Linked DNA regions of Homo sapiens: all the other regions are linked to region 7. The links are contacts of gene promoters, found by promoter capture Hi-C in blood cells and fetal thymus (Javierre and others, 2016). All regions are on one chromosome and are shown on one strand. Each heading gives the region's core, a stretch centred on a gene start or on the middle of the fragment in contact. The rest is flanking DNA. Distances are from core to core; before and after follow the strand shown.

The links. Contacts are between HindIII fragments. The CHiCAGO score rates a contact against its expected background, and 5 or more counts as called.
Region 1: the fragment with the promoter of FGFR4 here is called in contact with the fragment with the promoter of TSPAN17 in region 7 in 1 of 17 cell types (endothelial precursors); the score reaches 5.2 in endothelial precursors.
Region 2: a fragment that was not itself captured here is called in contact with the fragment with the promoter of TSPAN17 in region 7 in 14 of 17 cell types (naive CD8 T cells, M0 macrophages, naive CD4 T cells and 11 more); the score reaches 10.1 in naive CD8 T cells.
Region 3: a fragment that was not itself captured here is called in contact with the fragment with the promoter of TSPAN17 in region 7 in 1 of 17 cell types (endothelial precursors); the score reaches 5.2 in endothelial precursors.
Region 4: a fragment that was not itself captured here is called in contact with the fragment with the promoter of TSPAN17 in region 7 in 6 of 17 cell types (endothelial precursors, total B cells, naive CD8 T cells and 3 more); the score reaches 8.7 in endothelial precursors.
Region 5: a fragment that was not itself captured here is called in contact with the fragment with the promoter of TSPAN17 in region 7 in 1 of 17 cell types (endothelial precursors); the score reaches 5.3 in endothelial precursors.
Region 6: a contact is called between a fragment that was not itself captured here and the fragment with the promoter of TSPAN17 in region 7, in 1 of 17 cell types (M2 macrophages). The highest score is 5.2, in M2 macrophages.

The regions. Positions count from the first base shown.
Region 1 is chr5:177,085,437-177,088,430 of GRCh38, forward strand. FGFR4 (fibroblast growth factor receptor 4) reads left to right here and starts at 1,479. Exons shown (of 18, transcript NM_213647.3): 1 at 1,479-1,641. RefSeq lists silencers at 1,090-1,139, 1,390-1,849, a promoter at 1,360-1,579 and an enhancer at 1,545-1,995. The HindIII fragment of the contact is 20,491 bases long and covers 1-2,994 here.
Region 2 is chr5:176,966,204-176,969,668 of GRCh38, forward strand. UIMC1 (ubiquitin interaction motif containing 1) reads right to left here. Exons shown (of 15, transcript NM_001199298.2): 5 at 3,398-3,465; 6 at 2,352-3,088. Among named protein-coding and RNA genes, the nearest start is that of UIMC1, 39 kb to the right of the region's middle. The HindIII fragment of the contact is 1,963 bases long and covers 439-2,401 here.
Region 3 is chr5:176,992,717-176,996,210 of GRCh38, forward strand. All of the region lies in intron 1 of UIMC1 (ubiquitin interaction motif containing 1), which reads right to left. Among named protein-coding and RNA genes, the nearest start is that of UIMC1, 12 kb to the right of the region's middle. The HindIII fragment of the contact is 4,492 bases long and covers 1-3,494 here.
Region 4 is chr5:177,108,554-177,111,884 of GRCh38, forward strand. No RefSeq gene overlaps it. Among named protein-coding and RNA genes, the nearest start is that of FGFR4, 23 kb to the left of the region's middle. RefSeq lists an enhancer at 1,681-2,180. The HindIII fragment of the contact is 6,039 bases long and covers 1-3,331 here.
Region 5 is chr5:176,920,547-176,924,008 of GRCh38, forward strand. All of the region lies in intron 10 of UIMC1 (ubiquitin interaction motif containing 1), which reads right to left. Among named protein-coding and RNA genes, the nearest start is that of HK3, 23 kb to the left of the region's middle. The HindIII fragment of the contact is 696 bases long and covers 1,654-2,349 here.
Region 6 is chr5:176,941,038-176,944,457 of GRCh38, forward strand. It overlaps UIMC1 (ubiquitin interaction motif containing 1), which reads right to left. Exons shown (of 15, transcript NM_001199298.2): 10 at 2,298-2,451. Among named protein-coding and RNA genes, the nearest start is that of HK3, 43 kb to the left of the region's middle. RefSeq lists enhancers at 2,277-3,135, 3,136-3,420. The HindIII fragment of the contact is 4,397 bases long and covers 1-3,420 here.
Region 7 is chr5:176,646,033-176,649,136 of GRCh38, forward strand. It overlaps TSPAN17 (tetraspanin 17), which reads left to right and starts at 1,452. Exons shown (of 9, transcript NM_130465.5): 1 at 1,452-1,670. The coding sequence starts at 1,584. EIF4E1B (eukaryotic translation initiation factor 4E family member 1B) reads left to right here. Exons shown (of 9, transcript NM_001099408.2): 9 at 1-612. RefSeq lists enhancers at 56-350, 2,712-3,104 and a silencer at 1,024-1,683. The HindIII fragment of the contact is 21,997 bases long and covers 564-3,104 here.

The DNA.
Region 1 (2,994 bases), core at 229-2,728, 440 kb after region 7:
TCTGGCCTCAGCCTCCCAAGTAGCTGGGACCACAGGTGCACCCAGCCCATTTCCCTTCCTCTCAAGGTGCCTTAAGAGAAGGAGAAGGCTTGAGATTCAGGTGAGGGATGGGCAGAGATCAGAGGCTGCCTGGCCTCCTGGTTTGGCCACAGTCTAGATGCTCAGGAGAGAAGTGCTTACAGGTGAGGCAAACATGAGCCAGGTGGGCACGGAGCTATCTGGGAGCACCTACTGTATGCCAGACACTTGAACTCTAATGGTGAGGTCTGAGGACACAGTTCCTCTACTGAAAAATAGAGACAGGGCAACTATGTTGCCAGGGCTGGCCTCACACTCCTGAATTCAAGCTGTCCTCCTACCTCAGTCTCCTAGTAACTAGAACTACAGGCACCCGTCATTGTGCCCGGCCATTCCACAGCTATTTACATAATTAACTGTTCAGTTACAATTCTGGCAAGCGTGCTGAAGAAATAACAGGTCCTAAATAATTACAGCTAGTATTACAAAGCAAGCGCTGCATGCCAGGCTTACACATACTGCTAACATGTCTACTTTTTGCAACAACCTCTTGTGGGTGAGACTATCATTTGCCTGTTTTACTGAAAGGACAGTGAAGACTGAGGCCTTGTGTGATGGTGCTGAGAGCTGGGCCTATGACGTCCAGCCCTGTAGTCTGTGCTCTGAACCACTTCACCCTGTTTCTTTCTCCATCCTCACAGTAGAGACGTCATCTAAGAGGAGCTTGCAAGTCCAGAGGGCTTCCTGAAGGAAGTGAGCTGAGAATAATATGAAATTAACCAGACCAAGGGCCATTCCAGGAAGAGAGAATGGTACGTGAAACTGCCCAGGAGTAGCAGGGTGGGAGCCAGGAGGCGTGGGTCATGGCAATCTATGTATAAAGAGCTATGGGAATCTATAGGAAAATTTAAGGGAGTGGCTGACACAGTCAGATTTGTGTTGTAAGTATCACTCCGCAGGTTGCGCAGGGAACAAATGAGGGAGCAGAAGGAAGGGGTTCTCCTATCCGCTGCACGGCACTGCGCAGAAGACAGGGGAGCCAGGCATTCCCTGAAGGGTGAAAAGCAAGGAGTAGAGCTGGGTAGTAGACTAGAATTTAGGAGCCTGGCCTGGGGCCTGGGTGGGGCGAAAGAGGCGGAGCCTGAATGGGGTGTGTATAGGGGGGTTGCGTGTAGGGGTGTGTGTATAGGCTGGGGCGGGGTCCCGGGAGTGGGCTGACTGGGTCGGGGGCGGGGCTCTCCAGGTGGGCGGGGATCTTGGCCACCCCTGGCCACACCTCTCTCCGGCTCGAGCTGGTCTAGGCGGGGCGGGCCCGAGGGGGTGTGGCAGGAGGTGGGCGGGCCCGGGTGGGGGGGGGGGGGGCGTGGAAGGAGGGGCGGGCCCGAGCAGGAGGGGGCGGGCCCGAGGGGCGGGGTGGGACAGGAGGTGGGCCGCTCGCGGCCACGCCGCCGTCGCGGGTACATTCCTCGCTCCCGGCCGAGGAGCGCTCGGGCTGTCTGCGGACCCTGCCGCGTGCAGGGGTCGCGGCCGGCTGGAGCTGGGAGTGAGGCGGCGGAGGAGCCAGGTGAGGAGGAGCCAGGTGAGCAGGACCCTGTGCTGGGCGCGGAGTCACGCAGGCTCGAGGTGAGCCGGAACCCTTGTGGGCCCGGGCTGCGCTCCCAGCCGCCAGGGGGCGAGAGGCGGCGGGGCTACGGGGACTGCCCCTCCCGGCGCAGGGGACCTGGGCGTCCGCCGGGCGGCAGGGGGTGGAGGGGGCGGTAAATCAGTAACCCGCAGTGCACACAGGGCCTTTTGTCCCGCTCCGTCCAAAGAGCACCCCGGCCGCGGAGCTGGTTACTCATTGCCCACCGAGGCGGGGGCAGGCTGGCCCTGTGCAGCTACCCTCGGGACCCATTGATTCGCACCTCCCCCCAGGCTGGCCCGGCAAGGGTGGGGGAGGACAAGCGCGCTTGTCCCTGCGGCTGTCTTCGCGCCGGCGGCAGAGATGAGGGACCTGAGGCCCCGAAAAGTTCAGTCACTTAGTGCCCGGGGGCCTCCAGCGCGAGTGCGGGAGGCTGAAGGAGAACCCAGGACTGTCTGATGCCTAAGGCAGGCCCTCCATTCCCACGTGGGGGGTGGTCGGTCAGCGGTCAGCAGCCATGGGTGACTCGACTAAGGACTCTGATATCAGGGCAGCCTGGGGTAGGAATAAACTCCCCGGGCCTCCCCACCCACTCCCAGCCCAAGCTGTGTACCCAAAGAGCTGCCCTCCCTGCCAAGCCGAGCTTGGTAGGGAGTTTTACCAAGGAGGATCCGACTGGATTCGAGAGTTGAGGTGGGCCAGAGACAGCAGTATCTGAGTCAGGTAGAGAAGAGCAATGAGGGGCACAGAGGGATGGGCAAGAGAGCACATGTGCCCAGTTTTGAAAGCCAATGGCTTCAGCGCTCCTGAAGGGGCAGACGGTGTGACCAAAGAGATAGGCAGCGGCAGAGAGGGAGCCCTAGGATGTTGAGCTGGATCCTGCTGGGCACAGGTAGCCATTAAGGGCTTGCAAGCTGGGGGGCATGACATGGCAGACTTGCAGGTTTTTTTGTTTGTTTTTTTATTTTATTTTATTTTTTTATTTTGTTTTTTTTGAGACGGAGTCTCACTCTGTCGCCCAGGCTGGAGTGCAGTGGCGCGATCTCGGCTCACTGCAAGCTCCGCCTCCCGGGTTCGCGCCATTCTCCTGCCTCAGCCTCCCGAGTAGCTGGGACTACAGGCGCCCGCCACCGCGCCCGGCTAATTTTTTGTATTTTTAGTAGAGACGGGGTTTCACCGTGTTAGCCAGGATGTTCTCGATCTCCTGACCTCGTGATCCGCCCACCTCGGCCTCCCAAAGTGCTGGGATTACAGGTGTGAACCATCGCGCCCAGCCGACTTGTAGTTTTTTAAAACTCTGCTGGAAGATGAAGGTTGAAGAGCCGAGGGAGAGGATGTTTCCAGAGGCCCATGCA
Region 2 (3,465 bases), core at 170-2,669, 320 kb after region 7:
AGAATTACCAGTTGTTCAGTGCCTATGCTATGCATTGCAGTAGACATTTTACACAAATTCACTTTAATCATTAAAATAACTGTCGAAAGATAGGAATTGTTATTCCCACTGTATAGACGTGAAACTGGGATTCAAAGAGGTTAAGTGACTTGCTCAAAAACACACAAATTACTAAACACAAAAATCAGAACTCAACTCCAAATCCATGTTCTCTATTCTATGAAGCTCCTCAAAGTTACCATTTCTTGAACCTTTATCATAACACAAGAAAGACAGAATAACATAATAGTAAAACAAAACCAAAAGTCAAAGTCTGGTAACAGAAATAGCAAGAAAAAACAGTATAGTCATAAAACAGAATACTCTTTAAAATTACAATTTATATATAAAGAGTTTATATTATTGCTTTATAATATTCAAAGGGAAAAATAAGATATAAGCTTTCATACACAATATAATCTAGCTACTTCAGAAAAAGCAAACTAAATGTACCAAGATGAAGATTGGTTTCAATAAATTATTCAAAACCACTACAAGCAAAATAATAAATATACACCATTATGTAATGGGAAAAAATAACTCGGAAACTATCCATACTTCATATCACAAAGGACTACTTTCTCTACTATATAAAGTGTATCCACAAACCAATAGATTATCAAAAGAAAAAATGATCATAAGATCTAACAGACAGAAAAGGAAATACAAATGGGTCTTAGACATGTGAGAAAAAAGTTCAGCCTCACAAATAGTAAGAGATACGCAAATTAAGACTACACTGAGACGCCATTTTTCATCTCTCAGACTGGCAAAGATCAAGAAGTCTGACAATACTGCATTACTGTAGGTATGGAGAAACTAGTATTCATACACTGCCAGTGGGAATGTAAATGTATATGATCTCTATGGAGGGCAATTTGGCAACAGCTAATGAAATTATAAATACATTTTTTGGTCCACCAATTACAGCTACAGAAAATTATCATATAATACAAATATCTTCCATGTGGATGAAATGTCTTCTGGACATTTTACTATCTGTAACAGTAAACTCTGACTAATCCACACATGGTATTTTTCACATCCAAAAAAAAAAAAAGATGAAGAAATTCTTTATATACTGTTATGTAATGATCTCATTAGGATATTAAATGAAAAAAGTAGAAAATAATGTGTAAATCATTTGTGTAAAAGAAGGCAGGGAAAAGAAAATGTATTCTGCTTGTACCAGATAAAGTATCTTGGAAGGATACACTAGAACTAGTAACACAAATTTGAGTCCAGAGAGGGGAACTGGCTGGCTAGGTGATAGGGAGAAAAGTTAAGACTTTTTACTTATATATTTTTGAATTTCGAGCCATGTGAATATTGTTACCTATTCAAAAATTTAACCTTTCAGAAATAATAATAATTTTTAGACCAGGCGTGTTGGCTCATGCCTACACTGCCAACACTTCAGGAGAACAAGGTAGGTGGATGGCTTGAGTACAGGAGTTCGAGACCAGCCTGGGCAACAAAGTGAAACTCAATCTCTACAAAAAATATAAAAATTAGCTCAGCGTAGTAGCGTGCACCTATGGTCCCAGCTATTGCGACGGGCTGAGGTTGGGGGATCGCTTGATCCCAGAGGTGGAGGCTGCAGGGACCCAAGATGGCATCGGTGCACTCTAGCCTGGGTGACAGAGCGAGACCTTGTCTTTAAAAAAAAAAAAAAAAAATTTATACAAAAAATAAATTATGGTTTATCTATGGTAGAATAAGTCATCTATTAAGAAATGATCTAAGATAAACTATAAAGTAGGGAGAGGAACAAAACTTAACACAGAAGAGTCTTCATTTTGTTCAAAAAATTTTTTCATGTATTTTTGTATGCATAGAAATGATGACTGGCCAGGTGTGGTGGCTCACGCCTGTAATCCCAACACTTTGGGAGGCCAAGGCATGCAGATCACAAGGTCAGGAGTTCAAGACCAGCCTAGCCAACAGGGTAAAACCCCGTCTCTACTAAAAGTACAAAAATTAGCAGGGCATAGTGGCAAGCACCTGTAATCCCAGCTACTTGGAAGGCTGAGGCAGGAGAACTGCTTGAACCCGGGAGGTGGAGATTGCAGTGAGCCGAAGATTGCGCCATTGCACTCCAGCCTGGGAGACAGAGCGAGACTCCAACTCAAAAAAAAAAAAATGGTAGTTTTTTTCTTCTTTATACTCTCCTGTACTTTCCTAATTTTCTATAGTGAACATGTATTACTTTAATAATCAAGGAGGGGAAGACCACAAAAATAACAGCTAAAATAATCCTTGTTTTAATCTGTGAATAAATCATCCTTAATTACAGCATCACTGACCCTTACCTGACCATGACTGGTTGTTGGTTCTTCCTCCAACAAAAGTTTCTCTTTCAAGCTTTTAATTGAGCTTTCCTGGAAATCCTTGGTTTTTGAGTGCCAGTCAGATGCCCTAGACTCCTGCCTCTCCTCTTTGTCTTCATCTCCCATATCTTCTGAGATGCATTCATTTTTCTCACTAGCCTGCTCTCCTTGGCCACATTCATTCTGGATCAGAGAAGGAGGTCTAGGTAACACTGGTTCCCCAAAACCTTTTTTATTAAGGAGCTGCCTCTGAGCCATTTTCAGGCTCTTTTGATAAACCTCCAACTGGCAGAGAATGACCTTGGTATACTGGTTAGGGTCTACTCCATCAGGGCAGAATGGAATACCCCAGAAATAGTTCACAGTGCCCCCAGTGTCCTGGAGACCTTTGGCATCTGCTAGGGTAGGTAGACAGTGCCTAGATGTGTCCCCGCTACCCTGGACAGCTTTGAGAAAAGCAGAACCCCTCCCAGTACTTTCCTGTGGCTTCCCACACTGTGTGTGCTCAGCCGAGTGGCCAGTACATCTGTCAAAAGATTTAACGTTCACATTCTCAAACACTGGCTGGCTTGACTGGTCCCAGCTTCCTGAGCTGCCAGAGACCGGCTCCTCTTCAGTTTTTTCAGTGTGGTCCCAAGGCTCCTCTCTTTCCTCAGCCTCGTTTCCCTGACTGATATGTGAGCCTTTAAACAGTGATGGAGGTACCAGCTGCCATATGCCTGTAGGTATTTGAGAAAAAGTAGGGCTAAGGACAAACTTTTTTATTAAGAGGGCTTGGTAAGTTATCACTTACCAAGAATTACATAATATGGGTAAGAAAGGCTCTTCTTTGGGTTTAACCAAATGTTGGTTTTTCCTTGGAGATAAAAGTATGCCGGATATTCTTATGATCTCAACTACTTCCTGATTTAACTTCTTTATTATCACCAAAAGGATCTGGGGTATTTCCGTGTATCTACTCTCAGCATGAGATCCCTGTGGTACAGTTATACTTGATGAATGGAAGGAGTCAGAACAGGGAGACATGCCTTCAGTGAGCCCAGAGTCTGTGGTTTTCTCTTGATGGGACTGGGAAGACGGTCCAGTGGCCAGAGGT
Region 3 (3,494 bases), core at 774-3,273, 350 kb after region 7:
AATCACCTGAACCAGGGAGGTCAAAGCTGCAATGAGATGTGGTCATGCTACTGCACTCCAGCCTAGGCAACAGAGTAAGACCCCGTATCAAAAAAGAAAACAAAAAGCCACCATAGAATGGAAGAAAATATGTGCAATACATTTATCTTGCAAAAGACTTGTATCCAGAATATACAAACAATTATTGGGCCAGAAATGTTGGCTCACGCCTGTAATCCCAGCACTTTGGGAGGCTGAGGCAGGTGGATCACCTGAGATCAGGAGTTGGAGACCAGCATGGCCAACATGGCGAAACCCCATCTCTACTAAAAATACAAAAATCAGCTGGGCATGGTGGTGTGCACCTATAATCCCAGCTACTGGGGAGGCTGAGGCATGAGAATCATTTGAACCCCAGAGACAGGGGTTGAGCCAAGACTGTGCCACTGCACTCCAGCCTGGGCAACAGAGCAAGACTCCATCTCAAAAAAAAAAAAAAAAATTCTTGGCCGGGTGCAGTGGCTCATGCTGTAATCCCAGCACTTTATGAGGCCAACACGGCTCACCACAATCTCAACCTCCTAGACTCAAGCAATTCTTCCATCTCAACCTCCCAAGTAGCTAGGACCACAGGCATGTGCCACCACACCCAGCTAATTTACTTTTTATTTTTTGTAGAGACAAGGTCTCACTACATTGCCCAGACTGGTCTCGAACTCCTGGGCTCAAGTGATCCTCCCACCCAGGTCTCCCAAAGTGCTGGGATTACAGATGTGAGCCTCCATGCCCAGGCACAAATATTTTCTTACCTTTTAAAAATATATCTAATCATCATGGCACGAATATACCTATATAAAAAACCTGTACGTTCTGCACATGTACCCCAGAACTTAAAGACTTAAAGTCTAATAATTATAAAGTATCTCTACTGATAATTTGTAAGGCACAACCACAACATATGTATATTTACTTTTTTAACTATATGAATACTAATGTATGTATTTTGTGTACTGGAAAACATACAAAAATCTGCCAGGCGCGGTGGCTCACGCCTGTAATCCCACCACATTGGGAGGCTGAGGCAGGAGGATCACCTGAGGTCAGGAGTTTGAGACCAGCCTGGTCAACATGGTGAAACCCCGTCTCTACTAAAAATACAAAAATTAGCTGGGAATGGTGGCAGGCACTTGTAGTCCCAGCTACTTGGGAGGCTGAGGCAGGAGAACTGCTTGCACTCAGGAAGCAGAGGTTGCAGTGAGCCAAGATCACACCACTGCAGTCCAGCCTGGGTAACAAGAGTGAAACTCTATCTCAAAAAAAAAAAAAAAGAAGAAAGTATACAAAAATCAAAGTGTGAAAAGGATGAAATAGTAAAAAACACTTGGGTAATGCAGCATAAACATGCTTATTAAACACATAAACACTGGGAGGCTGGCTATGTCACTTTACATCTCTAGGTGGATTCCAAAAATTACACTCCAGCCTGAACAACACACTGAGACCCTATCTCAAAAGAAAAAATAAAAAAAGACAAACCAATATTTAAAAGAAGCAAGCGATATTAACAAACTTCACAAAAGCAGATATACTAAAGGCCAATAAGGAAAAACAAACAGATATTCAATATCATTATTCATCAAGAAATTACAAATTAAATTTACAATGGCCTAACACTGTATATCCATTAGAATGGCTAAAATTGAAAATAGTGACAATACAAATGTGGGCAGGAATGCAGAATATAATGAACCTCTCATATACTGCTAATGGGAATGTAAAATGGCATAACCACTTTGGAAAACTGGCAGTTTCTTTAAAAAAAAAAAAAAAAAAAAAGTATAACTGTCATGTAAGCCAGTCATTCTGTTGCAGGAATCTGGAGACTGGAGAGACCAATGCGTGGAACAGGAGGATTTTCTTTAGGTGGCCACCAGCCCAGCAGATTAACATCCAAAGGCTGAGCCCTCAACAAAGACAGGGCTTGACTTTTATACACACTTCTGAAAGGGAGTTGGCTAGTTTGAATGGTGCGGTGGGAATGTGACAGTGCGAAACTCATGGGGCAGGCAAGCAGGCTTACAGAAGCAGAACAAAGGCAGTTAATTAAATTGCGACAGGTCTCGCAACGCAGGCATAGCTTGTGATCATGCAGCTGCACAGTAGGGAAAACAGGAACTTACAAAACTTGTGAAACACAGGTATTTGTAGAAATAGTTATGAGAAAGGAATTTGTTTTCTTTTCTTATCCTCACTCTGGGGCGGGGTGTGGGGGGCAGTGTGCTGGGAGAGTATCTGGAGCTCATTCCTTTGGGCTCTGGCTTTTCAGATAGTGTTATCAAGGCTCTGCCAGGGCCCTGCCTATTGCTGGCCTTGGAGTGAGTCAGCCAAGTACAGGAAAACTTGTTTTTCTCTTTTTAACTTTGCTTCAATTCCACTACTATTAATTACTCAGTAGAAATGAAAACATTACCACCCAAAAACTTGTATATGTATGTTCATAGCAGCTCTTTCCATAATGTCAAACACCAAAGACAACCCAGATTCCATCAACAGATGAAATGACAACTTGTGGGCTGGGCATGGTGGCTCACACTTGTAATCCCAGCACTTTGGGAGGTCGAGATAGGCAGATTGCTTGAGGACAAGGATTTGAGACCAGCCTGGCCAACACAGTGAAACCCCGTCTTTACTAAAAATGCAAAAATTAGCTGGGTGTGGTGACATGCACCTGTAATTCCAGTTACTCAGGAGGCTGGGGTAGGAGAATTGAATTGCTTGAACTCAGGAGCCGAGACCATACCACTGCACTCCAGACTGGGTGACAGAGAAAGACTCTGTCTCCAAAAAAAAAAAAAAAAAAAAAAAAGGCCAGGCACGGTGGCTCACACCTGTAATCCTAGCACTTTGGGAGTCCAAGGCGGGTGGATCACGAGGTGAAAAGATCGAGACCATCCTGGCTAACACAGTGAAACCCCATCTCTACTACAAACACAAAAAATTAGCCAGGCATGGTGGCAGGAGCCCGTAGTCCCAGCTACTTGGGAGGTTGAGGCAGGACAATCGCTTGAACCTGGGAGGCAGAGGTTGCGGTGAGCCGAGATCATGCCATTGCACTCCAGCCTGGGCAACAAGAGTGAAACTCCATCTCAAAAAAAAAAAAAAAAAAAAAGGAATATAAAGTGGTACATCCACTTTGGAAAACAGTTTGGGAGTTTCTTAAAAAATAAGCATGTATCTACTACATTACCCAGCCATTTCATTCCTAGGTATTTACTCAAGAGAAATAAAGACGTGAATGTTCATCATAGCAGCCTTAGTCATAAGGGACAAAAACTGGAAATAACCCACATATCCATCAACATGTGAATAAACAAATTGAGACCTATCTCTACAATGAAAAATTGCTCAACAATAAAACGGAACAAACTACTGATGCATCCAACGACACAGATGAATCTCAAAGACATTATGGTGAGCAAAAGAAGCAATGTCTAAAAGACTACAAACTATGATTC
Region 4 (3,331 bases), core at 343-2,842, 460 kb after region 7:
GGCAGATCACCTGAGGTCAGGATTTCGAGACCAGCCTGGGCAACATGGTGAAACCCCGTCTCCACTAAAAGTACAAAAATTAGCCAGGCATGGTGACTCAAGCCTGTAATCCCAGCATTTTGGGAGGCCAAGGAGGGCAGATCACGAGGTCAGGAGTTCAAGACCAGCCTGACCAGTAGGGTGAAACCCCGTCTCTACTAAAAATACAAAAATTAACCAGGCATGGTGGTGCACACCTGTAATCTCAGCTACTCAGGAGGCTGAGGCAGGAGAATGGCGTGAACCCAGGAGGCGGAGCTTGCAGTGAGCTGAGATCGTCCCACTGCACTCCAGCCTGGGTGACAGAGAGAGACTCCGTCTCAAAAAAAAAAAAAAAAAAAAGCTGGAGAACTCCAGGTGCTGGCAAGGAGACGAGAGGCTCTCCTGGACTGGGGGCTGAAGCTGTCCCAGCGAAGTCTAGGAGCATTCAGCTAAGTATATACACACATGCCCTATGACCTGGAAATGTTGCCCTGAACATATAACTGCCCCCAAACACACACACACACACACACACACACACACACACACACACACAACACACAGAGATCCTCCCATGTGACCGTGTGGGGAAGGCAGGAGGAGGGGTTGGATCCAGCCTGGGGTTCCTCACTGGAAGGCGGATCAGCAGAATGTGTGGAGGACCCGGTGGACACAGAGCCACATGGGGGACTTAGAAATCTCGTGCTGAGAGGCAAGAGGAAGAAATGGAATGAGATCTAAAGCACAAAGCCACTTGCACGAAATGATGACACGGAAAACACACATTTTCCAAGAACGCACACACAAAACTATTAGCACGACTGTCTGGGGGGCAGGGTGATAAGAATGGAGAATGAGGCCTGGCGTAGTGTCTCACGCCTGTAATCCCAGCACTTTGGGAGGCCGAGGCGGATGGATCTCGAGATCAGGAGATCAAAACCATTTTGGCCAACATGGTGAAACCCTGTCTCTACTAAAAATACAAAAATTAGCCGGGCGTGGTGGCACGCGCCTGTAATCCCAGCTACTCCGGAGGCTGAGGCAGGAGAATTGCTGGAACCCGGGAGGCAGAGGTTGCAGTGAGCTGAGATTGTGCCATTGCACTCCAGCCTGGGCAACAAGAGCAAAACTCTGTATTAGAAGAAAAAAAAAAAAGAACGAAGCACTGAGCACTGACCAGATAGAGGAAGGCGTGCAGGGGTGTGGAGTTGTGGAGTGTTGGGAATTGAAAGGCTCAGTAAATCAAGAAATGTTTACTGGGCACCTACCATAGGCCAGGTACTCTTCTAGTCACTGGGTATACCCAGTGAAGACAGACCTGGCCCCTGCCCTGAGGAGTTTCGTATCTACAAATGGAGACAGATATTCAACAAACACCCAGGAAAATGCTGACTGTAATGAAACGCAGAGCTCTGAAGGTCAACAGCCTGCAGCTGTGAGTGCTGACGGTGGGGACTGATCCTGGCCGGCTCCGGCTCCGGCTCCGGCTCCGGGAAGGGTTCCCTGAGGGAATGATGTTTGAGTTGAAGGAGGAGAGCCTTGGCCTTGTGAAGAGTGGGAGGAAATGCATTCCAGGCAGACAGAATGGTCTCTGCAAAGGTCTGGAGGCAGGCAGGTGCAGGGCGAAGGTGAGGGCATCCGATCCAGCTCCGTGGACAGAGCACAAGAGTGAGGGGGAACACGGTGCCAGATGAGGCCAAACCCAGGGGGCCTCGTAGGCTGTGGGTTTATCCTAAGGCAAGTGACAAGACAGGAAAGCAAGGGGCTGGTGCAGATGGGCAGGCAGTGGAGGGGATTGTTGCAGCGCCTGGCTAGACTCAGAGCCGGGAACCGGAACAGCCCCCCAAAGTACATGTGTGGCCTCCCAAGAAGACAGAAGTAAGAGCCCCAGAGCATCCACAGAGTGACCATCCACGCTGTCTCCCACTCTCTGGTCTGGGGCCAGCAGCGCCTCTGCACAGCTACATTCTGAGGCTCCCAGCTTGGCCAAGGGGATAGAGAAAAGTGGAAGGCCAGATGCAGAATAAGAGGATTTGCTAGGCCAGGCATGGCATTTCACGCCTGAAATCCCAGCATTTTGGGAGGCTGAGGCGGGAGAATGACTTGAGGCCAGGAGTTCAGGACCAGTCTGGGCAACACAGTGAGACCCTGTCTCTACAAAAAAAATAAAACAATTAGCCGAGTGCGAGAACACGTGCCTGTAGTCCCAGCTACTTGGGAGGCTGAGGTGGTAGGATCACTCTTACAGAGAGAACAGTCTCTGCTTGGAATAGTCCAAGCTCCTTAACACGCAGAGGAGGCCTTCAGGATCTGGCCCAGTAGGTTGCAGTGAGCTACGATATTGAGTCTCTGCACTCCAGCCTGGAACACAGAGCAAGCTCCTGTCTGAAATAAATAAATAAATAAATAAATAAATAAATAAATAAATAAAAGGGAGGCCGGGCACAGTGGTTCATGCCTGTAATCCCAGCACTTTGGGAGGCTGAGGCGGGCAGATCACCTGAGGTCAGGAGTTTGAGATGAGCCTGGCCAACACAGTGAAACCCTGTCTCTACTAAAAATACAAAAATTAGCTGGGTGTGGGTGGGCTACTAGGTAGCCCAGCTACTCGGGAGGCTGAGGCAGGAGAATCGCTTGAGCCCAGGAGGTGGAGGTTGCAGTGAGCCGAGATCATGCCACTGCACTCCAGCCTGGATGACAGAGCAAGACTCCCTCTCAAAAACAAAATAAAAATAAAAATAAAAGGGGGCTGGGCGCAGTGGCTCACACCTGTAATCCCAGCACTTTGGGAGACTGAGGCGGGGGATCACAAGGTCAGGAGCTCAAGACCAGCCTGGCCAAGATGGTGAAACCCCGTCTCTACTAAAAATACAAAAAATTAGCTGGGCGTGGTGGCGGGCGCCTGTAGTCCCAGCTACTTGGGAGACTGAGGCAGAGAATTGCTTGAACCTGGGAGGCGGAGGTTGCAGTGAGCCAAGATCGCACCACTGCACTCCAGCCTGGGTGACAGAGCGAGACTCTGTCTCAAAAAAAACCCAGAAAATAAATAAATAAATAATAATAAAAGGGGACTGGCTGATGGGGGGTGGGAGGGTGAAGGAGGTGATGGAGAACCTGGAGATGGGAAAGGACAGAAAGTTGAGTGAACAGGTGGCATCAGTGTGTTTCAGGGGCCTGAGGAGGGACCACAAGGGGGTGGACAGGGCAGATGATGATGAAAATGTCGCCAGACCAACACACTGTGCCTGACCGTGAAACAAACAACAGGAAGCCAGCAGCATCCCAATTTCACTATCCTTGTGCCTTTCAC
Region 5 (3,462 bases), core at 752-3,251, 280 kb after region 7:
TAAATGTAACTGTTTTCTTAAATCCACTTTCAGATTGTTCACTGCTAGTGTACAAAAATACAGTTCATTTTCTATATTGACCTTGTATCCTGCAAACTTGCTAAACTCGTTTATTAGTTCTAAAGGCTTGTTTTATTTCAGTGGATTCTCTAGGATTTTCTATATAAAAGATGTCATCTGATAGAGTAGTTTACTTCTTCGTTTCCAACCTGAATGGCTTTTATTTCATCTCTTTCCTAACTGTCCTGGCTAGAACCTCCTTTACCACGTTGAATGGAAGTGGCAAGAATGAACATCCTTGTCTTGTTTCTGATTTTGGGGAAAGCTTTCAGTCTTTCACCATTAAGTATGATATTAGCTGTGAGTTTTTCATAGACGCCCTCTATCAGGCTGAGGAAGTTCCTGTCTATTCCTAGTTTGCTGAGTATTTTATTGTCATGAAGGAGTATTGAATTCTCTCAAATGCTTTTTCTGTGTCCATTTAGATATCGTGTGGTTTTTGTCCTTTGTTCTATGATACAGTATATTAACTGATTTTCTAATGTTAAACCAACCTTTCAGACTTTTTTGATGAGAAAAAAGTAGTACTTGAGAGAACTTCTACACTCTTCCACCACCAAAAGTATTAGTCTATCTGCATCTGTACCCATATCCTCTGCCTTCCCTCCTATTGCACAGAATGAATTGCCCACACGGCTATCTAAGGCTCACTTTTCCATTTGATCCTGAATCTGAACGCTTCTTGCTTAATTAAGGATTCCCCTCCTGCCATCATCTCTCCTGAAACATCAATTTTTCCCTCTTTTTTTAGATCATTCCATCAGCATACAAATATGCAGTAATATTTCCCATAAGGTTATTTCTAGACTTGTATATCCTGCTGTCTGCTCAACATCTTCATTTGGTTATTCACTGGGCATCTTAAAATTATGTACAAAACCAAATTCTTAATTTCTTCCTCCAAACCTGTTCCTGCCCCAGTGTTCCCGCTCTCAAACAACGAAGTCATCATTAACCCAGTTGCTTGGGGCAAAACCTTGATTTCACCTTAGTCTTTCTTGTTCTCTCACACTCCAATAAATCCTGTAGGTTCAACCTTCAAAACATTCCCAAATCTGACAACTTCTTTACCTCACAGCTACCTCTATGGTCAAAGCAAACATCAGATCTTCCCTGGAATAATGCAACAGCCACTCCCCTCCACCCCTGCTTAGTCTCCTCAATTCCATTTTTGCCCCATCCCTCTATAGATTATTTTCCACATTGTAGCCAGAGTTAGATTACATCATTCCCTCGTTCTCAACCCCCCTATGGCTTTTCATCATATTTGGAATGAAGTACAAAAACCTCACCTCACATGATCTGACCACTGTTTATTTCTTCTCTCCTTTCCCCCTGTCGCTCAATCTAATTCAGTCATTGTGTCTTTCCTGCAGCTCTAAGAAACATGCCAAACACACTCTTGCTTTAGGGCCTTTGTATTTATTCCCTGACCTAGAATGACTCTATTCAAATATCACCTCAAGAAGTCTCCCTTGATCTTTCTCTTTAATCGAGCCCCCTTTTTCCTCTGTTCTAGTCACTCTCCATCCCCTCTTCTTGCCTTGTTTTTCTTAAATTGTATTTATTATCTGTTTCCCTCACAAAAAGGTAAGCTTTATAAGAACACTGACTTGTGTTTAGTACTGTACCCTCAGCTTGCAGAACAGTATCTGCGTTATAGTTGCTGCTAAATAAATACCAACTGGGTTGTCAGTAAGGAAGTACAAGCAATAGTTAAACAACACAGTGATCTTCTGAATTACTCAGAGGGGCTTTCTAAGTTGAGTACCCTACAATTGGCTTAGCCAGAAACCTGAGTTAAGATTGCCTTCTCTCATCTTGACCAGTCACAAGGTTTGCTTCTCTCACCAAAAGATTCTCAAGTCCGTCCACTTCTACTAACACTGCTTTATCATCTGTCTCTCTGCTTTTAGTCTCCTCCAAATTATGGTTAATATTTCAGAATACTGTATTTTCTTTCAGTCTTTATTTTGAATCCTTATATAATACTTCGTCTTGTTTTTGAACATTGGGTTAAGTTGTTCATTGTTATAAATAATGCTTTGATAAACCATCTTTGTCTATACAATTTCATCTAAATTCTGATGACGTTTTTAGAGTAGATTTTCAAACTTTAATTCATGGGTCAGAAGATATGAATTACTTTTAAGTTCTACGTATATATTATCAAATTGCTTAAACAAAAATTTCAGCTGTTAAAGATTAAGCTATAAATATTATAGACAAGTACTAGTAAGGAAGTAGATCAGTAAAAGTGCACCTCTTAAGAGAACAGGCTTATCTCTAAGCTTGAAAGAAAATCGCTACATTTTGAGTAGGCAGGGGGCCTCTGTGGCTTTTTTGCAGCAAAGAAGGCAGTCTGGCATTGCAGTACTGTCTTTGGAGTCTAACTGCCTTTGAATCCTATGCCAGAGCAGGTATTTATAGGCTTCAAGCCCCTAAGCCTTTGTTTGCTCATCTGTAAATGGACCCAGCAATGCTTATCTTTTTAGGGTTGTAAAGATTTCTATTTAGGAACTACCAACATAATCACGTAAGATGTTTGAGTTAGAAGCTATGTCTATTAGAATAAGATTATCAAGCCTAGTACCTGAGAGAACAAGAGATTGTCAGAATGGATAAAAGCATGACCCAATGGTATGCTGTCTACAGGAGACACATTTTAAAAATAAAAACACAGATCAGTTAAAAGAATGGAAAAAGATGTATCAGGCAAACAGTAGGAATAAGACTGAAATGACTAGAACCATATCCAGTAGTTCTACCAGATAAAATACACTTCAAGAAATAATTAGCTGGGTGTCGTGGCACATGCTTGTAATCCCAGCTACTTGGAAGGCTGAGGTACAAGAATCCCTTGAACCTGGGAGGCACAGGCTGCAGTGAGCTGAGACAGTGCCACTGCACTCCAGCCTGGGCAACACAGTGAGACTGTATCAAAAGCAAAAAAAAAAAAGAAAGAAAGAAAATAAGGTCGGGCACGGTGGCTCACACCTGTAATCCCTGCACTTTGGGAGGCTGAGGCGGACAGATCACTTGAGGTCAGCAGTTTGAGACCAGCCTGGCCAACTTGGTAAAACTCTGTCTCTACTAAAAATATGAAAATTAGCCGGCCATGGTGGCGGGTGCCTATAATCCCAGCTACTCAGGAGGCTGAGGCAAGAGAATCGCTTGAACCCAGGAGACAGAGGTTGCAGTGAGCCGAGATTGTGCCACTGCACTCCAGCCTGGGCAACAGAGCAAGACTCTGTCTCAAAAAAAAAAAATATATATATATATACACACACACAGACACACACACACACACACACACACACAGACACACACACATTATCAGGGATAAAACTGGAAATTACATCGTATATTTACATGTTGGCTCAATAATTTATATGAAACCGT
Region 6 (3,420 bases), core at 822-3,321, 300 kb after region 7:
TAATCCCAAAATACAGCGACAATTTTAGGCTAAGAGGCTCAGTACTGTGTGATTATAACGCAGTAACTTGAAGCATTTCAAATATGTAATAATTAAGTAAATGACAGCAATCCAGGTTACCAAATATTATGTAGGCATTAGAAATATTTTTATAAATAACTTTGTGACATGATGAAATATTTACACTATAAACAGAAAAAGCAGAATATAAAATTTTACAGTCAGACCTCAACTACGTCAAAAATTTATCTGCACATTGAAAGAGCTAAATTTACTGCTAAATAAAAAAGACAAGTTGCAGAATAATATATAGAGAGAGCTATATATAGCATGGTCCCGTTTATGTAAATAGTGCCTAATTTTAAGTATTCAATAAATGTAAGCCATTATTATTACAATGAACATGTACTACTTTATAATCAGAAAAATCAACAAATTTATTAAATTAAGTGTTTATGTACTTCCTTATTTAATAACTAAAAAGTATATTACTTCAAGAAAAGTAAATAACATGTGCTTGCCTCTCTGGCAATCTTAATTTAAAAAACACTTCATAATTATACAATGTCACATTTAAATACACCTAAGTTACAGGAATCAAGTAGCACTGAGAAGAACACTGCAACACTTCCAATTACCTAGGTTTACATTCAGCATGTTAGACCACAGAGAGCTGTGCTGACATGACTATATTTAGAGTTTAAAATCATAAACAGGCCAAATCAGAGGTGGTATTTCAAGGGCTGTGATTAACAAGATTTTCTTGATCAATGTCTTATGCTGTCTGAAAAGTAGGGATTTTGGTACAGACTTTTTTTTTTTTGAGATGAAGTTTCACTCTTGTTGCCCAGGCTGGAGTGCAATGGCACGATCTCGGCTCATTACAACCTCTGCCTCCCGGGTTCAAGCAATTCTCCTGACTCAGCCTCCTGAGTAGCTGGGATTACAGGAGCCCGGCACCACGCCTGGTTAATTTTTTGTATTTTTAGTAGAGACAGGGTTTCACCACGTTGACCAGGCTGGTCTCGAACTCCTGACCTCAGGTGACCCACCCGCCTCAGCCTCCCAAAGGGATTACAGGCATGAACCACCGCGCCCAGCCTCTGGTACACTCTTAAAGAGATAAACCAACAGCTCCTCGGTAACTCAGCAGAGATATGATATGTAGGACATGAATGTAAATTAGTGATATTTTTCAGCTGCTGTCTCTAGGTAAAATTTCTATTAAAACAAACTACAAAAAGAGGGAAAAAACCTACAAGGGGTTTATTCTGAATGAAAAACGTGGAACTTAGTTCAAGTTCCACAGGAATCTCAATATTTGAATACATAAGTTGAAATGCAAGGTCCACTGCACTGCACTGATTTCTAGCCTACCTATGTAAAAGAATAAGTTAATACGTTAAAAGATGGGCCAGGTGCAGGCTGGGCGTGGTGGCTTACACCTGTAATCCCAACACTTTGGGAGGCCGAGGCAGGTGGATCACGAGGTCAGGAGATGGAGACCATCATGGCTAATATGGTGAAACCCCATCTCTACTAAAAAAAAAATACAAAAATTAGCTGGGCATGGTGGCAGGCACCTGTAGTCCCAGCTACTCGGGAGGCTGAGGCAGGAGAATGGTGTGAACCCAGGAGGCGGAGCTTTCAGTGAGCCAAGATCGCACCACTGCACTCCAGCCTGGGCGACAGAGCGAGACTCCGTCTTAAAAAAAAAAAAAAAAAAAAAAGGTTGGGCCAGGTGCAGTGGGTCACACCTGTAATCTCAGCACTTTGGGAGGCCAAGGCAGAAGAATCACTTGAGGTCATGAGTTCGAGAGCAGCCTGGCCAACATGGCGAAACCCTGTCTCTACTGAAAAAAAGTACAAAAAAAATTAGCCAGGCATGGTGGCGCAAGCCTGTAGTCCCAGCTACTTGGGAGGCTAAGGCGTGAGAATCGTTTGAACCTGGGAGGCGGAGGTTGCAGAAAGCCAAGATCGCGCCACTGCAATCCAGCATGGGTGACAGAGACTCTGGCTCAAAAAACAAACAGAACAAACAAACAAACAAAAACATTAAAAAATGAAAGACTTTTCCCTTCCCCTTCTCCTGAGGCATGTGTAACAGGACAAAATACCTGCTAAAAGTAATGATGAACATAAAAGTACTAGAAAAATAACTAGATAGAAAAAACCCAAGACCAACAACAACTTTAACTTTGAAGAACAGCTATGTTTTTTCCCTGCATTGTAATGTATAGGATTATAAAACCACCACACAAAAAAGTAAGAGTTTGGCTGTCCTGCTGGGTCTTTACCTGTATCTTCCTCCATCAGACCATTGCAGTACATGGCATGTCGTTCAATCTTTGTGGGTGGAAAGCATTGGTCACATAGCGGGCAGGATACCTGGTTACTGGATGAGAAGGTAGAAATAGCTACTTCCTTCTCAGCATCTTCCTTGTTACCAACCTGAAGAACATGACAAACAGCAATCATAACAGCTTTAGTTCATATCATTCCCTACAACGAACTGCAAGAGACTCCACCCCATATTTCACTTACTTTCAAAGAGACAACAACAGCTTATCAAATTCAGGAGTAAAGATTGAGAGATACTACTGATAGAGTCAATACTTATTCAGTGCCTTATACTGCCAACTATGTATTAAACACTCTACATGTATTACTCGTTTATCAGTAAGTTTATATATTACTCATTTATATGTAAGTATATTTATACTGACAACTATGTATTAAACACTCTATATGTATTACTCATTTAATCTTACAAAGTTATTAGCACACTCCTTTTGTACACGTGAGAAAAGTACTTGTGTAAAACAGTAAAGCAATTTGCAAAGTCACAGAACAAGTAAGTGGGAGTGTTGAGATTCAAATGAAGGACTAGAATCTGCCTCAAAAACTTGAGGGCACTGATCTCTACCACATTGTAAGGCACAATCCTCATTGCATCAGTGTGCTGTGCCTGCTGGGTTTCACATTTTGCATATCAACAGCACCTTAAGGACACATTTTCAATTTCACAAAAGGACTGTTATTACTGTAAGTGACTTTAAGACATAAGGAGTTAGAAAACAAAAGAGCTCTAAGCCAAAAACAGCACAACTAGGATTTAAGTTAAGAACATAAGTCTGTACTTAGACCCATAAGACCTAAGACCTGTGTTTTATTTGTGACTTTCTGGATTGAAAGAGGAAACTAAGATCTACATACTTAAGAAGCACCAAATAATTCATTAGTTAAAATAATCAATTCTGCCAAAGCCACTCTTAAACCTATCTCTTATTCCTCTGTTTTGTAGTCATCATTTCTCCTACAGTTGCTGGTATCTCTTAAAGGCAGTTTTATTTTACCTACACAGGTTGATCAGAGCCAAGAACTCTGCAGTGATTAATTCAACAGTGTGTGTGAGCACTG
Region 7 (3,104 bases), core at 202-2,701:
TTACTTTGGGGGATGGGGCGGGACTGGGGATCAGACAGCCTAGTTCTTACCTGTCCTCAAGTGAACAGGAATGCAAACACTCTTTAACATGAGTTGGGGCCTGAGCCTTAGGGGCTAGATGGGGGTAGTGGTGGCAGTCTGAGGACCTAGCTTGTCCTGGGGCCACAGGACAGCAGCAGGGTGGAAAAAACTCCTGAGGGTGGGGTGAGTCATGGCGGGGAAGGAGGGCTCTATGGTAGGCGGAGAAACCCATAGTCCAGCGTTTACTGTTTCCACCCAGGAAGGAGGTGAGGTGGCCTGAGAGACAGACTCTTCCATGGGTGGTGGGCTCAAGGGCACAGACATTCTGGAGGGTGAACGCCATCATTTGTACAGAGGGATACGTGGGTTGCTGAGGACTGAGAGAGCCTTGCAAGGCCGCTCCCCTTCTCCCCAGCTGTGACCAGGGCTGTCTGGGCCTTGCCTGCCTCAGGGCCAGACTGAAGTGGAGGTGGAGGGATGCTGGGCTAGGCCTCACCAAGGTTCTGGTAGAAGTGGTGGAAGTGGATAAACTTGATAATAAAAGCTTAAGCATCTTTCTGTTCCTGTTTTAAATAAATACTTCTGAACAAAGTTGGAATTATTTTTAAGAGGGCTTCAAACTGGAGTAAGATTCAGGTTCCCCCAAACTTTGATCTGCCTCTGTCCTGTCTTACAGGGGCTCATGTGAGATCACTGGGTACCAAGGAGCCTGACCGGGACCCTGGCCAGTATGGAGGACAGGGGGTGTGGCTGGGGAAACTCAGCCACCAAGGGGGCTTGAGCCAGGTTCCGGGGGGCATATGCCCCTGGCAGGGCGCAGCCGGCGTGGCACCAAGGCCCAGGCCCTCGTTTGGCCTGAGTTTGAGTCAGGATAAGTAGAGCTGGATTTCCGCTGGGTGAAGGTGAGCCTGATGCGACTCCACAATGACAAAACGTCCTGCACGTGTTAAAAACTCAATCCGGACCAGCTTCCCCATTCGCCTGCCAGAGCAGCAGTTAACCTTCCCCTGGGATGGGCTCCAACAGCAGGCTGGGGATTGGGATGGCGCTGGTACCCAGCAGGGGAAGCAAGGCTTCTACACCCCGGCGGCCTCCGGCGCCATCAGCCGGCGTCCCGGGCGGGTCTGCAGGACGCTGGGAAACGCGGCGGCGGCCTGCGCGGGGGCGGGGCCTGGCCGAAGGCGGGGCTGCGAGGAGGTCCGAATCAGGCTGTGGGGGCGGAGCTCGGGAAGCGGAGCCAGGTCCAGAGGCGGGGCTCAGGCGGGACTGAGTTGATCTATGGGGGCGGAGCCAGGTCAGGAGGCGGGACTCCAAAGGGACTGAGGGCTGTGGGGGCGGGGCCCGGTCCAGAGGCGGGGACAGCAGGGCTCCGGGCAAGGAGGTCTGGATGCTGAGGGCGGTCCCTGAGGGGCGGGCGGGGCCCGACCGGCGCTCTGTGTGGCCGAGGCCATGAAGCCGCAGCCGCCCGGCTAGGCCCCGGGCGGCTCTAGCCCAGGGCGGCCCGCGGGGCGCTGGGCCTGGCTCCCGGCTCCGGTTTCCGGGCCGGCGGGTGGCCGCTCACCATGCCCGGCAAGCACCAGCATTTCCAGGAACCTGAGGTCGGCTGCTGCGGGAAATACTTCCTGTTTGGCTTCAACATTGTCTTCTGGGTGAGCGCGGGGTCTGCGCCTTGCCCTGTGCTGGGGGGTGGTGGGAGAGGGAGATTCAGTCTTTTGCTGGGGGAGACCACTCCCTGCCCCAAGAGTTTGGAGCTCGGGACCATCCCCCCACTTCTGCCACACCCACGCCCACTTCCAGGACCACCCGAGGTAGCTACAGAGGCCCGGATTGCTGGGGGCGGGTCCTAGCGACAGCGTGGGGTCGGGGTTGGGGTAGGGAGTCTCCCTAAATAATCCCGAGGCCTGGTGGAGAAAGGGAAGGTGTTTCCTTGAAGACCCCAGGGGCGTGCTAGGTGCAGGTTGCCCCCTCTCGCCCAGCCCTCCTTCCTACCCTGGGATGTGGGATGCGTGCCAAGCCCCACCCCTGGTTTAGCCGGTAAGGAGATTCTGGCGTGAAGGGAGCCGCCAGGCCCCTTCCCCGGCCTCCTTTCCCTTCCAGTAGTACCTGGGTCAGGTGCCTCACCTTAGGCTCCTGCAGAGTGGGGTGGGTCACAGTCCTCTGCCCACCCCAGTCCCGCACAAGGAGGCTGACCTGCCAGGAGGGGCAGGGAGGGACAATGGCGAGTCCTTGGCGGCTGGGAGAGGATCTCCCCGGTTGAGAGCCTGGGAGCTGGCCTTGGGGAACAGAATTCAACATTCCACAGCTGACAAGCTGAGGCTCCTGGGCGGGTCTGCCCCTACCGGGGAAGGGAGCTACTAGTGCCCCTCCCAGGGTGGCATCTGTCCCCCTGGGCCCTGCCAGGTCATTTTTCCCATCTCTCCAAAGCCGTGGCCCTCTGCAGTCTCTGCTCCTGAGGCCTTGGGTCAAGATGCCAGGCCTTTTCCCTTGTGTTCAGCAAGACTCAGTGGCACTGCCCCCCACCCACGTGTCACCGAGCTCACTGGTGTGGTGGGTGTCCTTGCACTGCAGCGCTAGGCTCTTGAGGGTGTGGGCAGTGTGTGGGAGCACTGGCAAAGAAGTCAGAAGGCCTGGCTGTAGCAGGCCTGGCTGGGACACCTTGGGCAAGTCATCTCTCCTCTCCGGGCCTCAGCTTGCCTGCCTGGGAGACGACGATAAAGAATCTGCCTGTGAGGGCTGTTAGGCAGATACAATGAGTTCAATTTGTTGTATTCTCACAACTGCCTTATTATCTGCATTTTACAGATGGGGAAACTGAAGGAATAGACACAGAGAAATTAAGTCACTTACCTAGGGTCACACAGCCAGAAAGTACAGAGCCAAGGTGACGGCTTAGTGGGCAGAGGGTGGAGGTGAGGCAGAGCTGTGAGCAGAAGTAACCTCAAATACCGAGGGGGAGCAGGCGTGAGAGACCCGGGTTTGTTGCTGGGGCGGAGCGTGGGGTGTTATGTTAAGGTGGCATGGAGAAGCGAGGGCTTCCAGTGATGGGTCTGATCTGGCTTCTGTTCTGGAGACCGCTTGCCTGG